Regions from separate parts of the Homo sapiens genome. Here all the other regions are linked to region 2. The links are contacts of gene promoters, found by promoter capture Hi-C in blood cells and fetal thymus (Javierre and others, 2016). All regions are on one chromosome and are shown on one strand. The core of a region is centred on a gene start or on the middle of the fragment in contact, and the rest is flanking DNA. Distances in the headings are between cores, read along the strand shown.

What was found. Contacts are between HindIII fragments. The CHiCAGO score rates a contact against its expected background, and 5 or more counts as called.
Region 1: a contact is called between the fragment with the promoter of CABLES2 here and the fragment with the promoter of LINC00659 in region 2, in 2 of 17 cell types (M1 macrophages and M0 macrophages). The highest score is 7.2, in M1 macrophages.
Region 3: a contact is called between the fragment with the promoter of GATA5 here and the fragment with the promoter of LINC00659 in region 2, in 2 of 17 cell types (M0 macrophages and M1 macrophages). The highest score is 7.8, in M0 macrophages.

The regions. Positions count from the first base shown.
Region 1 is chr20:62,405,715-62,409,535 of GRCh38, forward strand. CABLES2 (Cdk5 and Abl enzyme substrate 2) reads right to left here and starts at 1,571. Exons shown (of 10, transcript NM_031215.3): 1 at 1,201-1,571. The coding sequence starts at 1,562. It overlaps LOC105372709 (a long non-coding RNA gene), which reads right to left and starts at 1,180. Exons shown (of 2, transcript XR_936967.3): 1 at 1-1,180. RefSeq lists a silencer at 1,488-1,737. The HindIII fragment of the contact is 20,791 bases long and covers 1-3,821 here.
Region 2 is chr20:62,775,492-62,779,065 of GRCh38, forward strand. LINC00659 (long intergenic non-protein coding RNA 659) reads right to left here and starts at 1,365. Exons shown (of 3, transcript NR_046225.1): 1 at 1,315-1,365. RefSeq lists a silencer at 672-833. The HindIII fragment of the contact is 9,640 bases long and covers 1-3,574 here.
Region 3 is chr20:62,473,734-62,477,247 of GRCh38, forward strand. It overlaps GATA5 (GATA binding protein 5), which reads right to left and starts at 2,262. Exons shown (of 7, transcript NM_080473.5): 1 at 2,197-2,262; 2 at 1,266-1,809. The coding sequence starts at 1,788. RefSeq lists an enhancer at 1-530. The HindIII fragment of the contact is 37,958 bases long and covers 1-3,514 here.

The sequences.
Region 1 (3,821 bases), core at 321-2,820, 370 kb before region 2:
AGCACGTGCCAGCCTTGACCCAAGAGCTCTGTGTCGGCCCCTTTGCTGCACACCTGCAGGGGCTGCCTCTGGGAACAGCCGCCCAGCAGGCACTTGGACCTGTGGACAGTGGCTCCCTTTGAGAAGGAACCGCAACAAGCAGCCAGTCCTGGGCCCAGAGCCCACAGTCACTCCTGGAGGTGAGGGCTGTGGGAGGCAGGGTCACCCAGGTCCTGTGGTCTCTGGGAGAAGGACACAGGGTGTCGGGCAGCCAGGGGCCATCTGGGCAGGGGGCACACGCTGGACAGGCAGGGCTCATGGTTGGGGTTGCCCTGGGATGGGCTGAGGTGGTTCCCAGAAATGGAATCAAGGCAGGGGGAGCAGTGGAGACCCAGGGTGTGACAGACCCAAAGATACCGAGCTGAGAGTGATGTGGGGAAGGGCGGGGCTCAGCAGGGAAGTGACAGGGAGAGGAGGGGTGCCAGAGACCAGTGGCTGTGGGATGGGAGATGTGGCTGTGCAGGGGCCTCTGGGAACAGGTGTCAGTGACAGTGCCAGGAGGACCCCGGCCCACATGCTGGGTCTGAGGAGGTGGGCATGGACGGTGTGGCCCGGTTCAAAGAATGCGAAGAGATGCACAGGGCTGTCCATGTGTCCCTGTGTCCCGGGCACTGGTACCAGTGGATGGGGGTGGGGGCATGTCCAGAACCCACAGGGCTGGGGGTCTCAGGGGTAATAAGGGCTGAACCCTAAAACCCATTTCAGAGCACTGACAACGTGGAGATCCAGACCCCGTATTCAGGGGCTGGGAGAATTCAGGGGACAATGAACCCTATGTGTGGGGGGTGACAGGGCCTGAGGAAACCCTCAGCCAGCCCAGGAACCCCCAGTTCTGTATCCAGGACTGACAAGGTCCCAGGTGAACCCAACCCCTGTGTCCTGGGCTGATGAGGGCCCAGACTGACCCTGACCCCTGTGTCCTGGGTTGACAGGGGCTCAGGTCACCTGAACCTCTGTCCAGGGCTGACAAGGCCCCAGGTGAACCCAACCCCTTTGTCCTGGCCTCTGTCCAGGGCTGACAAGGCCCCAGGTCACCTGACCCCCTTGTCCTGGGCTGATGAGGCCCCAAGTAATCCTGACCCCTAGTCCTGGGCTGATCCGGCCCCCGTCCCCGTCCCTGTACCCCGCGTCCTGGGCTGACCTGGCCGGGCCCCCACTCACCTCTGGCGCTGCCCATCCAGGCCGAGGCCGGTGGGCACCTGCGTGGGGCTGAGCAGGCCCTGGGGCGCGGGGGTCCTGGCGGGCAGCCCGGTGGGGGGCTCCGGCGGCGGCGGCGCTGGCGGTTCGCGGGCCTCGGCGGGCGGCGGCGGGGGCTTCTCTCCGCCCGGGCCCAGGCTCGGGGGCCGCCCGTCCAGGGAGATGTTGTTGAGGAAGAAAAGCGCGGCCTGGCGGCGCCGCGAGTCCCCGCGCCTCCGCAGCGCCTGCGGCGGGGCCCGAGCGGCCGAGGTCGGCGCGGCGGGTGGCGGGGGCCCGGCGGGGCCGGGGGCCGGGCCCGGGGCTCCACCGGCCGCGGCCGCGGCCATCCTCAGACTGCGCCCGCCGCCGCGAAGCGCCCCACCCCCTGCCCGCGCGCCCGCGCGCCCGCCGCCCATTGGCCGCGGCGCGCCCACATGCAAATGTATCGCCGTCGCGCTCTCCCATTGGCCAGCGAGGTGCCGCGCTCAGGGCGCTCCCCTGGGTCCTAGAGGCGGTCGGACGCAGCAGCAGGGAGTCGGGAGCTGCGCGCCTCCCCGCCGGTTCGAGTCCCCGTCTTGGGACCTGCGGCCGCGGGGCTCTCGCTTTCTGTTCCCTTTGCTGTATGGCGGCCTTCGCGGATGGCCTCCATCGAGCGCACATTTTAAGGCTCCGGACCCAGGGCGGCGTGGGTGAGGCCCCAGCACACTTCCCTGTCCGGAGGTGTGTCTGGGCGGCGCTTCAGCGGGCGCAGGGCGGCCCCTGGAGGAGCCCCACCGCTTCCCGGAAGGGCCCGCGTGCCATCTGGCCTCCTTCATTGACAGAAGGGAACGAGGGTCTGAGTGGAGAAGGCACCTGCTTGGGATCAAAGCCCCAGGCAGAGTCCTGCACTTCCTGCAGTAGCAAAGTGACCTTGAGCCTGCCTTGTGCCCAGGCCTGTTTCCTCTCTGTGCCTGGGTGCCCCTGACTTCAGAACCTGTGAGCCCGTGGCACCGGGATGGTCAGGGCCTGCCTCTGGAGCCCGGGAGCCTGTCTGCAGTCTGGAGGGGAACCCGCTGTATCTTTGTGGAGGGACTCAGGACCTTGCACCCACCTCTGTGTCACCTGCCTGCTCTGTCCAGCTTTCTTTCATGGGTTTACGTATCTTTAAAGAGGGGACAATGATTTCAGCCTCAGGGTACTGTCAGGATGAAACTGGCTCAGTGAGGGGGTCGGGCTGTGGCCGGAGGCCAGGCACATGCAGTGGTCAGTCCGCGAATGCGCTGCAGTACCTCGCACCTGCCCGCATGCGCCCAGCCTCTCCTGTGCTGGGTGCTGGGGACCCGGTGGGACCGACAGGCACAGCGCTGGCCCTAGGAGCACCTGGTGTGTGGGGAGGCAGCATGATGGCCAACAAGGCAGTGGGCGAGTGGGCAAGACAGGGTCTTCATCACCACCCCTAGCATGGGCCCCTGCCCTTCAGGCCCCTACCCACCTCCCGCCTGCCTGCTCCCTCCTGTGGGCCTTCACGGGCCACCATTGGGGCTCACGCAGCATGCAGCACCTCCATTTCCTTTCCCTCCGCCCTTCCAAGTTGGCCTCCAAGGCCTCTGCCAGGCCTAGGGGAAGGTGGGCAGCTGTCCTGTCTAGGAGAACGCGGGGCTGGGTGGCATAGCAGAGGGGTGGCTGCGGATTCTGGATCCACAGAATGGGGTGCTGACTTGTGTGCCTGGGGGCTCCCGTGAGCGGGGAGTGAGTGTGTCCAGCGCTGTAGGGTGCTGAGGCTGGGGCAGGCACACAGTGGGCCCTCCATCCCTGCTGGCTATCACCAGGAGGAGGGGCCTGACAGGGGAGGGTGGGCCATACACCAGCAGCTTGCAGAGAATCTGGTGTCAGATGAGAACAGAAAGGGGCGAGTGAGGGTGGAGGGCAGGACGCAGGAGGCAGGAGGCAGCTGTCCGTGCTGGCTGCAGCGCCGGGTCCTGGGGATCGGCTGTGCAGTAGGGGGGCCCCTAGCCAGTTCTTCTTTGCTGGCGCTAAGCTAGACTTTGAGGGACAAGGAGGAATGCTGAGGAAGGAACGGGGTCTCTTCCTGGGTCTGGTGAACCCCCTTGCTAGGCTCCCGCTGCCAGTCTTCTCCCCTCCCCAGGGTGTCGATGGGTGGCCAAAAGCCAACCTGGCCTGCGGGCAGTGTGTAGGGAACACACGGCTTTTGTTTCGTGTGATTCTGGAGAAATTAAAGCAACCTTTAACACACCTGGACTTCCCTCTTGGGAGTTCAGTCCCTCTGGCCTCTCAGGACAACAGGCAGACATGTCACAGGCTGCAGGTGGGAGGCAGTGCCCCCTGAGTCAGGCCCGCACCCCAGTCTGGCCCAGGCCTCACCCAGCCCAGTCGTTGGCCCGTGTCCTGCCATCCCTGTGATGCGTGGTTTTAAATGCCCAGCTCACCTTGGTGCTTTGGCTGCAGAGGGCCCTGCTCATGAGTTTCGCTCCTTATTTTCTTTGGCTCTCACCCTGAACTCTGAGCAGGTGTCAAGCGCAGGGCTCTGTCTGGATGCTCCTGACTGCAGGCCTGGCCCTTGGGCTGACTTCTTAGTTTCCCCCTTGCCCTGGCACCCCTCCGTGGCC
Region 2 (3,574 bases), core at 115-2,614:
AGGACAAGGGCAACAGAGAGTGTGAAAAGCTGGAGTAGACAGGACAGAAAACAGGGTGCAGCGTCCCCCAGGTTGGCAGATAGCCCAGCCCCAGGGACCCCACAGCCATGGCAACCTGTGTGAATGAGCCCCAGGAGCAGGGCAGTACACGATCTGCGCGACTGTGCGGGGCAGCCCTGGGTCTCTGCCTCAGGGGAGAGATTGTGTCCTCGCCTTTTGTGGTTTCTAGAGGTTCCTGCCCTCCTTGGCTGCACGGCATCTCCCAGCCTCTCTCTCCCTTCCGTCGTCCCCTCTCCTCCTCTGACCCTGACCCTCCCAGTCCCTCTTAGAGGGGCTGTGATTAAACTGTGCCCACCCTGACCATCCAGAATAATCTCCCATCTCAAGGTCCTTAACAGCATGTGGAACTGCACTAGCCGCCCCAAGGCCCCCAAAAGGCAACCCTGGATTGGGCCCCCCAAGTTGCCTGGGATTCATGGCCACCACCCGGCTCGACGGCTCCAGACCGAAATGCACCCAGTTATAGAAACAGACAGTTGCCTCTTGAATGTGCACATGTGTGAGGAGAGTGTCACACCCGTCGAATTAAGGTGGACCCGCCATGAGTGGGGGCAATGCTGGCCAATGCCCACCTGCCCAGCACCCACAGCTCTCGGCCTGGGGCTCCCTCTGTCTCTGGAGCCCGCACTAAAGTGTGCGTCTCCATCCACGACTGGCAGGGCTTGGGGCATAGACATCCCGCTGCCTTGCCTGGAGGCGCCCCAGGCCTCCACTCCCACACTGTCTCAGGGCTCCCCGGGGCTCGGCTCTCCTTGCTCACAGTGGTCCGGGCTGGGGTTCCTTCTTGGTTGCATTTCCAGCTGTGTTCTTTCCTTCACTTTCTCACTCTCCCTTGCCTCAGGGTCTGCATCTGGGGGTCCACTGGGGAGGACTCAGCCTCTCCCGCGTCCTCCATCCCACACACCTGTCCCTGGGCAGCCACGGGGAACAGGAGCACAGGGGACAGCAGGCAGAGGGCAGCGCCCGGGCGAAGGGGACTTTCGCCCTTGCTTCATGCAGCCCTGGCACCCGCAGCAGGGTAAGACGAGATCCCAGAGGAGGAGTCTTGGCCGCAGAACTGCAGGGCCAAGGCACCAGCCGCTCGGGGGCCTGGAGAGCTCAGGTCACAAACTTGAAGTCAGCTGCCCAGGAAGCAGCCTCAGCTGGGGGTCACAGGCCAACTGGGCAGTGCCCTTGGCCACACCTGTGGAAGGAGGACAGAGGAGGGCAGGGCGGAGGAGGGAGGTGCTGGGCTGCAATGTCACCTCTACAGACCTCGGCTGATCCCAAGGGGGTCCACAGTGGATATGGTCCTTCAGGGGTGCCCTTGAAGGCAGGAAGGGGACAGGACTTTATACTGTTCCTCCCACCCCTTCGAGCAGTCACCAACTGCAGCCCAGATGAGGTCAACAGGTACAGAAAGGAGGGGGTGGGACAGGAAGGAGGGGCGGGACAGGAAGGAGGGGGCGGGACAGGAAGGAGGGGCAGGACAGGAAGGAGAGGGTGGGACAGGAAGGAGGGGCGGGACAGGAAGGAGGGGGCGGGACAGGAGGAGGAGATGGGAACAGGGAGGTGGAACGGGAAGGAGGAAATGGGACAGGAAGGAAGAGATGGGAGCAGGAAGGAGATAGGACTGGAAGGAGGAGATGGGACTGGAAGGAGGAAATGGGACAGGAAGGAGGAGATGAGGCAGGAAGGAGGAGATGAGGCAGGAAGGAGATGAGGCAGGAAGGAGGAGATGAGGCAGGAAGGAGGAGATGAGGCAGAAAGGAGGAGATGGGACGGAAAGGAGGGGATAGGACAGAAACGAGGGATCAGGGTCCTATTCTAATCTCCTGGGGGCATGATTGCAGGGGGTGACATGATTACTTCCAGCCAGCCCTACATGAGCCACCTCGTCCATGGAGTCAGCCCCGCCAGGGCAGCAGAGCCCTGGGTTCGCACAGGGAGCCAGGGTGGCGTGGGGCCTGCATTGCAGACTCCATTTGTCCACATCAATCACTTCTCTACGGCCCAAATCACCCTTAGTTGCCCAGTTCCTGCTCCGCGGCAGTCTGGCTCCTGCTGGCGCCCCAGCCATCTGTCTGCATTAGAGAATGATGCTTGCCAGGGCCTCAGGGAGGTGGCACGGATGGGCAACACTGTGCTCCCGGACCAGGTGACAGACACCACCTCATGCCCCATGGCATGGACCTCCACCTGTCTGATGGCTTTGCCCCAGCCTATCTGATGGCATGGTCCCTGGCCAGTCTATCTAATGGCGTGGTCCCCAGCATGTCTGATGGCGTGGTCCCCAGCCTGCCTGATGGCGTGGTCCCCAGCCTGTCTGATGGCATGGTCCCCGGCCTGTCTGATGGCGTGGTCCCCAGTCTGTCTGATGGCGTGGTCCCCGGCCTGTCTGATGGCGTGGTCCCCGGCCTGTCTGATGGCATGGTCCCCGGTCTGTCTGATGGTGTGGTCCCCAGCCTGTCTGATGGTGTGGTCCCCGGCCTGTCTGATGGCTTGGTCCCTGGTCTATTTGATGGTGTGGTCCCCAGCCTGTCTGAAGGTGTGGTCCCCAGCCTGTCTGATGGCGTGGTCCCCGGCCTGTCTGATGGCTTGGTCCCTGGTCTATTTGATGGTGTGGTCCCCAGCCTATCTGAAGGTGTGGTCCCCGACCTATCTATCTGATGGTTTGGTCCCCAGCCTGTCTGATGGCGTCGTCCCCGGCTTGTCTGATGGCATGGTCCCCGGCTTGTCTGATGGCATGGTCCCCAGCCTGTCTGATGGCATGGTCCTCAGCCTATCTGATGGTGTGGTTGGTGTGGTCCCCAGCCTATCTATCTGATGGTGTGGTTCCCTGGCCTATTCGATGGTGTGGTCCCCAGCCTGTCTGATGGGGTGGTCCTCTGTTGGCTGGTGTGATCCTGCCTCTTGTCTCACATCGTGAACCCTGGCCTGCAGGAGGTGACCCAAGGCTGATGACTCCTTCTCCGGGGCCCTTGCACCACACAGCCTGGCCCTGATTACAGCCCCTGGGCTCCTGTACCTGTCCTCGCAGCCCCCACTCTGCCACTTTGCATTTGTCTGTTTCACTCAACACACATTTAATGAGCACCTACTGTGTGTACCAAGCCCAGTGGGGAACAGCACATCAATGAGGCTGGTGCGGGAGGCCTTGGGTACCCTCCGTCTGGCTCCCCGCCCCAGCGCATGAGGCTGCCTCTCTGGGTCTCGGACGCCCACACCGCAGTGTCTGGGAGAAGGCCTGGAAGCCTGCATTTGGGCAGTGGCTCTGGGGCCCGGCCTTGCTGGCTTCCGGTGGCCCCAGGCAATGACTCCTCCCTGTCTCCATTTACAGATGGGGAGAGGAGCTGAGGATGGTGGGCCCGTGACCCTGAGTGGCCAGTTCATTCCCCAGGCCCTGACTGGTGCAGCAAGAAAGAGAATCCGCCTTGGGTTGGGGGATGTGGCATGAACTTTAAGATCCACCCTTTTCCACCCTGGGATCCTGGCCCCCGTCCCGCATCCCAGCCCCAGCCAGGACAGCCCCTGG
Region 3 (3,514 bases), core at 1,012-3,511, 300 kb before region 2:
TAAAATTTATTTGCTTACTTCATCTTATTTTTAAATTTTTAATTCACATACGATAAAATTCGCTAGGGTTGGTTTTTCGAGGATGGGGTGTTAATAAACAGAACCTGAAGACAGACACCTGGGACTCCCGGCTCCGGGACCGGGGGCCAGCACTGGCCTCTGCCTGTTTGACCTGCTGGGAAAGCAGGGTGTCTACACTGGCGGGGGAGGTGGATGAAGTGGTGTCTACACTGGCAGGGGAGGGATGAAGGGGCTTTATCTGGCAGACACTCTTGGGCGCCCCTGGGCTCTCCTGGGAACGCTAACCCCGCTGTCCTCCTGTTCTGCAAAGCGGGTCCATGACAGGGGTGGGGGGTTGGGAGGGTGGAGGAGGTGCCTTCTGTCAGCTTGGCTGTGGTCGCAACCAGTGTCCTTCCTTTAGAAGGCCAGCCCCGCCTCACAGCCCCCTGGGGCCGGGCTTCGCACACTGTGCGGCTGGGGGTGGAGGTCTTCCTGGTCCCCTCCAGGCCCGGCCCGGCGCCGGCGCGAGGGAGGCCCGGGCGCCGAGTGGGGGTGGGGCAGGGATCAATCATCGCCCCGCCGGGGGTGGGCGCCAGCAGCCGGGCTGTCCAGGGAGGCGGGGGCCAGGGGTCCTGCGGATGCCGCTGCGCCCGCTTCCTGCGCCAAAGGGCCGGCGGGGTCCCAAAGGCAGCTCCGGAGCTGGGTGTCGAGGCCTCCAAGGTCCCGGAGGGACGGGATGGGCCCCTGCGGAGCTCAGAGGAGCCGCCTTCGCCAGAAAGTGACTACGCTGCAACCGGGAAGAGCCGCTCCCCTCACAGGCCGAGAATCCGATTCTCCAAACTGATACTCGGGAAGCGACTGAAACCAGGTCTCAAATTAAAATCAGTAAACGTCCTAGAACCGAGACGAATGTGGCCACTTAAATAAACCGATGTTTTGGGCTTTATAAAAATCGTTTCCAAAACTTTTCAAAAACAAAAACAAAAACGATTAAGACTTTTGAGGCTCCACATTGGCACAATCCGGAATGCTGTTTGGAAATAGATGTTCCTTCTCATTAACAGGTTAAAACAGAATTCTGGATGGGTGTTTCCCGTGCGGGGTGTTACCCAGGTTTACTCGTCTCGCCCCGGGGCTGCTGGTGTCGCTCCTGGCAGGGAGGCTCGGACCGTGGGGGAGGATGAGGGGAGCGTTTCGCAGGGTGCGGGTTTGCACCCGGATTCGGCCGCTCCTGGGCCCCGAGACTGTGGAGCCCCCGCACTCACCGAAGGTGGGCCTGCGGCCTGGGAGGCCGTGCAGGACGCTGCCATCGAAGGGCCCGGCAGTCCAGGACTGGGCCACGTCGGGGCTCACGTAGGCCGGGTAGGTGGCGGAGTACGAGGTCCCCACCGGCCGCCCAAGCGGGGCCGCGAACTGTTCTCGAGGCAACAGCGCGCCCTGGTAGGCACTGCCGTCTCGGCCCCCCGCGCTGCCGCCGCTGCCGGGCCCCGAGGGGCTGTGCGCGAAAGGGAAGGCGGTGGCCCCGGGCGGGTGCGCGGCTGGGGGGTGCGGACTGCCCGGGCCGAAGGCCGACGAATCCGCGGTGGCTGTCTGCGCCCAGCCGGGGCGCGCAGCGAGCTCGGGGGGCTGCGGGCTCGGCTCACACCCGGACAGGTAGGACAGCATCGAGGGGACGCGCGCCGGCGGCACAAACATCGGAGAGCCGGCGCCCGGAGCGTGCAGGAAGGAGCCCGAGTCGGCGTAGGCGGCCTGGCGGGGGCTCGCGGCCAGCGCCAGGCTCTGGTACATCCTCCCAGGCGTGGTCTTGACCTGCAGGGAAGAGGGACAGGTGTGGAGGTCACGGGAGCTCTGCGCCCTCCGCCAGCGCCCGAGCTTATGCCGGGCAGGTGCCGCCGCTTCGGGCAGCGCTTCCCAGTCCCCAGCCCGGGACGTTCGCGGGGCGGGTCCCCGAACCCGAGGGAGAGGAACCGCGGGGATGGGAGAGGCCAGCGCGTCATCCCCGGGGCAGTCACAACGCCGAGCCCACCTCCTCCCCGACCGGGCTTCGGAGGTCCCCGGGGTGAGCTCGGTGGGGGCCTGGGAAGGACGGGCCTGGCGCGGCCGCAGGACGCAGGGCCTGGAGAGCGGGGCCCCGCCGCGCTGGGAGGGGCCGGGTGGGGAGGGGCGCGCGGCTGCAGCCCGGGCTGGAGCACTCACCAGCGGGCAGGGAGGGCGGCAGGGCACGGCGGTGGCGGTGGGTCGGCGACCGGCGGGCCGAAGACTGGAAGCCCGGGCCGCTGAGGCTCCGCAGCCCCCTCCGCGCCGCCCCGGCCCGCCCCCGCCGCGCCGCCCCTTCCCTCCCCGCGCCCGCCCCTTCTTCCCCGCAGGGTCAGCGCTGGGGCTCCGGCCGTAGAGCCACGTGACCCTGGCAGGCCCTGCTCGCGGGGCTTGGCGACAAGGACGCACGACACGGGGCGGCCAGCGCGGAGCCCGGACCAGTGCAGCTAGACGGGCGGGCCGAGGGCTTCGTGGGCCCCGGGGAGTCGGGCGCAGAGACTTCTCCAAGTTTGTGCGAGTCCCGAGCCCTCTGCCTCCCTGCCCCGGCCCCCGCCGAAGGCTGGCCTAAAGACGGGCTCCGTGTCTGGTGGCTGAGTCGGTGATCCCGGCCCCGCTCACCGATGGACACGCGGCGGTGGAACCCCGTGGGCCCCCTCGTTGCGTGGCCGCACCCGGGGCTCGGTGCAGGGAACCGGCTTCCATAGGGACGGCCGGCTCGGGTCGCTGGACTGGGACGGGGTGCACTGGCGGGAGCCCCGCGATTTCCTCGGTTTCTGAGCAAGCGGGGCCACAAGGCTCGGGGTCCCAGTGGGAGGTGGGCAGGGTCCAGCCTCTAAGGCCCGATCTGGGTGCCAGGCTCGAAGGCCCCAACCCCGGTGGGGCTCTCAGCCGGCTCTCGGGGACTCGGGAAGAGTTTCCTCCAGGCGCCAGAAATGCGTGTGGGTAGGAGGCGACCCAGGTCAGGGAACCGTGTCCCGCTCGCACTCCCGGTGAGGGCTGCATGGAGGCGCCGCTGCCGCGGAGCAGCTCCGCAGGTTGCGGGAAACGGAACGGCGGGCTCGGAGCACACCGGGTGGACCCAGGCTTGGCGGCCATGAAAGTTCTTTTTTTCTTTTTTTCTTTCTTTCTTTCTTTCTTTCTTTCTTTCTTTCTTTCTTTCTTTCTTTCTTTCTTTCTTTTCTTTCTTTCTTTCTTTTTTCTTTCTCGGAGCACACCGGGTGGACCCAGGCTTGGCGGCCATGAAAGTTCTTTTTTCTTTCTTCCTTCCTTTCTTTCTTTCTTTCTTTCTTTCCTTCCTTCCTTCCTTCCTTCCTTCCTTCCTTCCTTCCTTCTTTCTTTCTTTCTTTCTTTCTTTCTTTCTTTCTTTCTTTTCTTTCTTTCTTTCTTTCTTTCTTTCTCGGAGCACACCGGGTGGACCCAGGCGTGGTGGCCATGAAAGTTCTTTTTTCTTTCTTCCTTCCTTCCTTCCTTCCTTCCT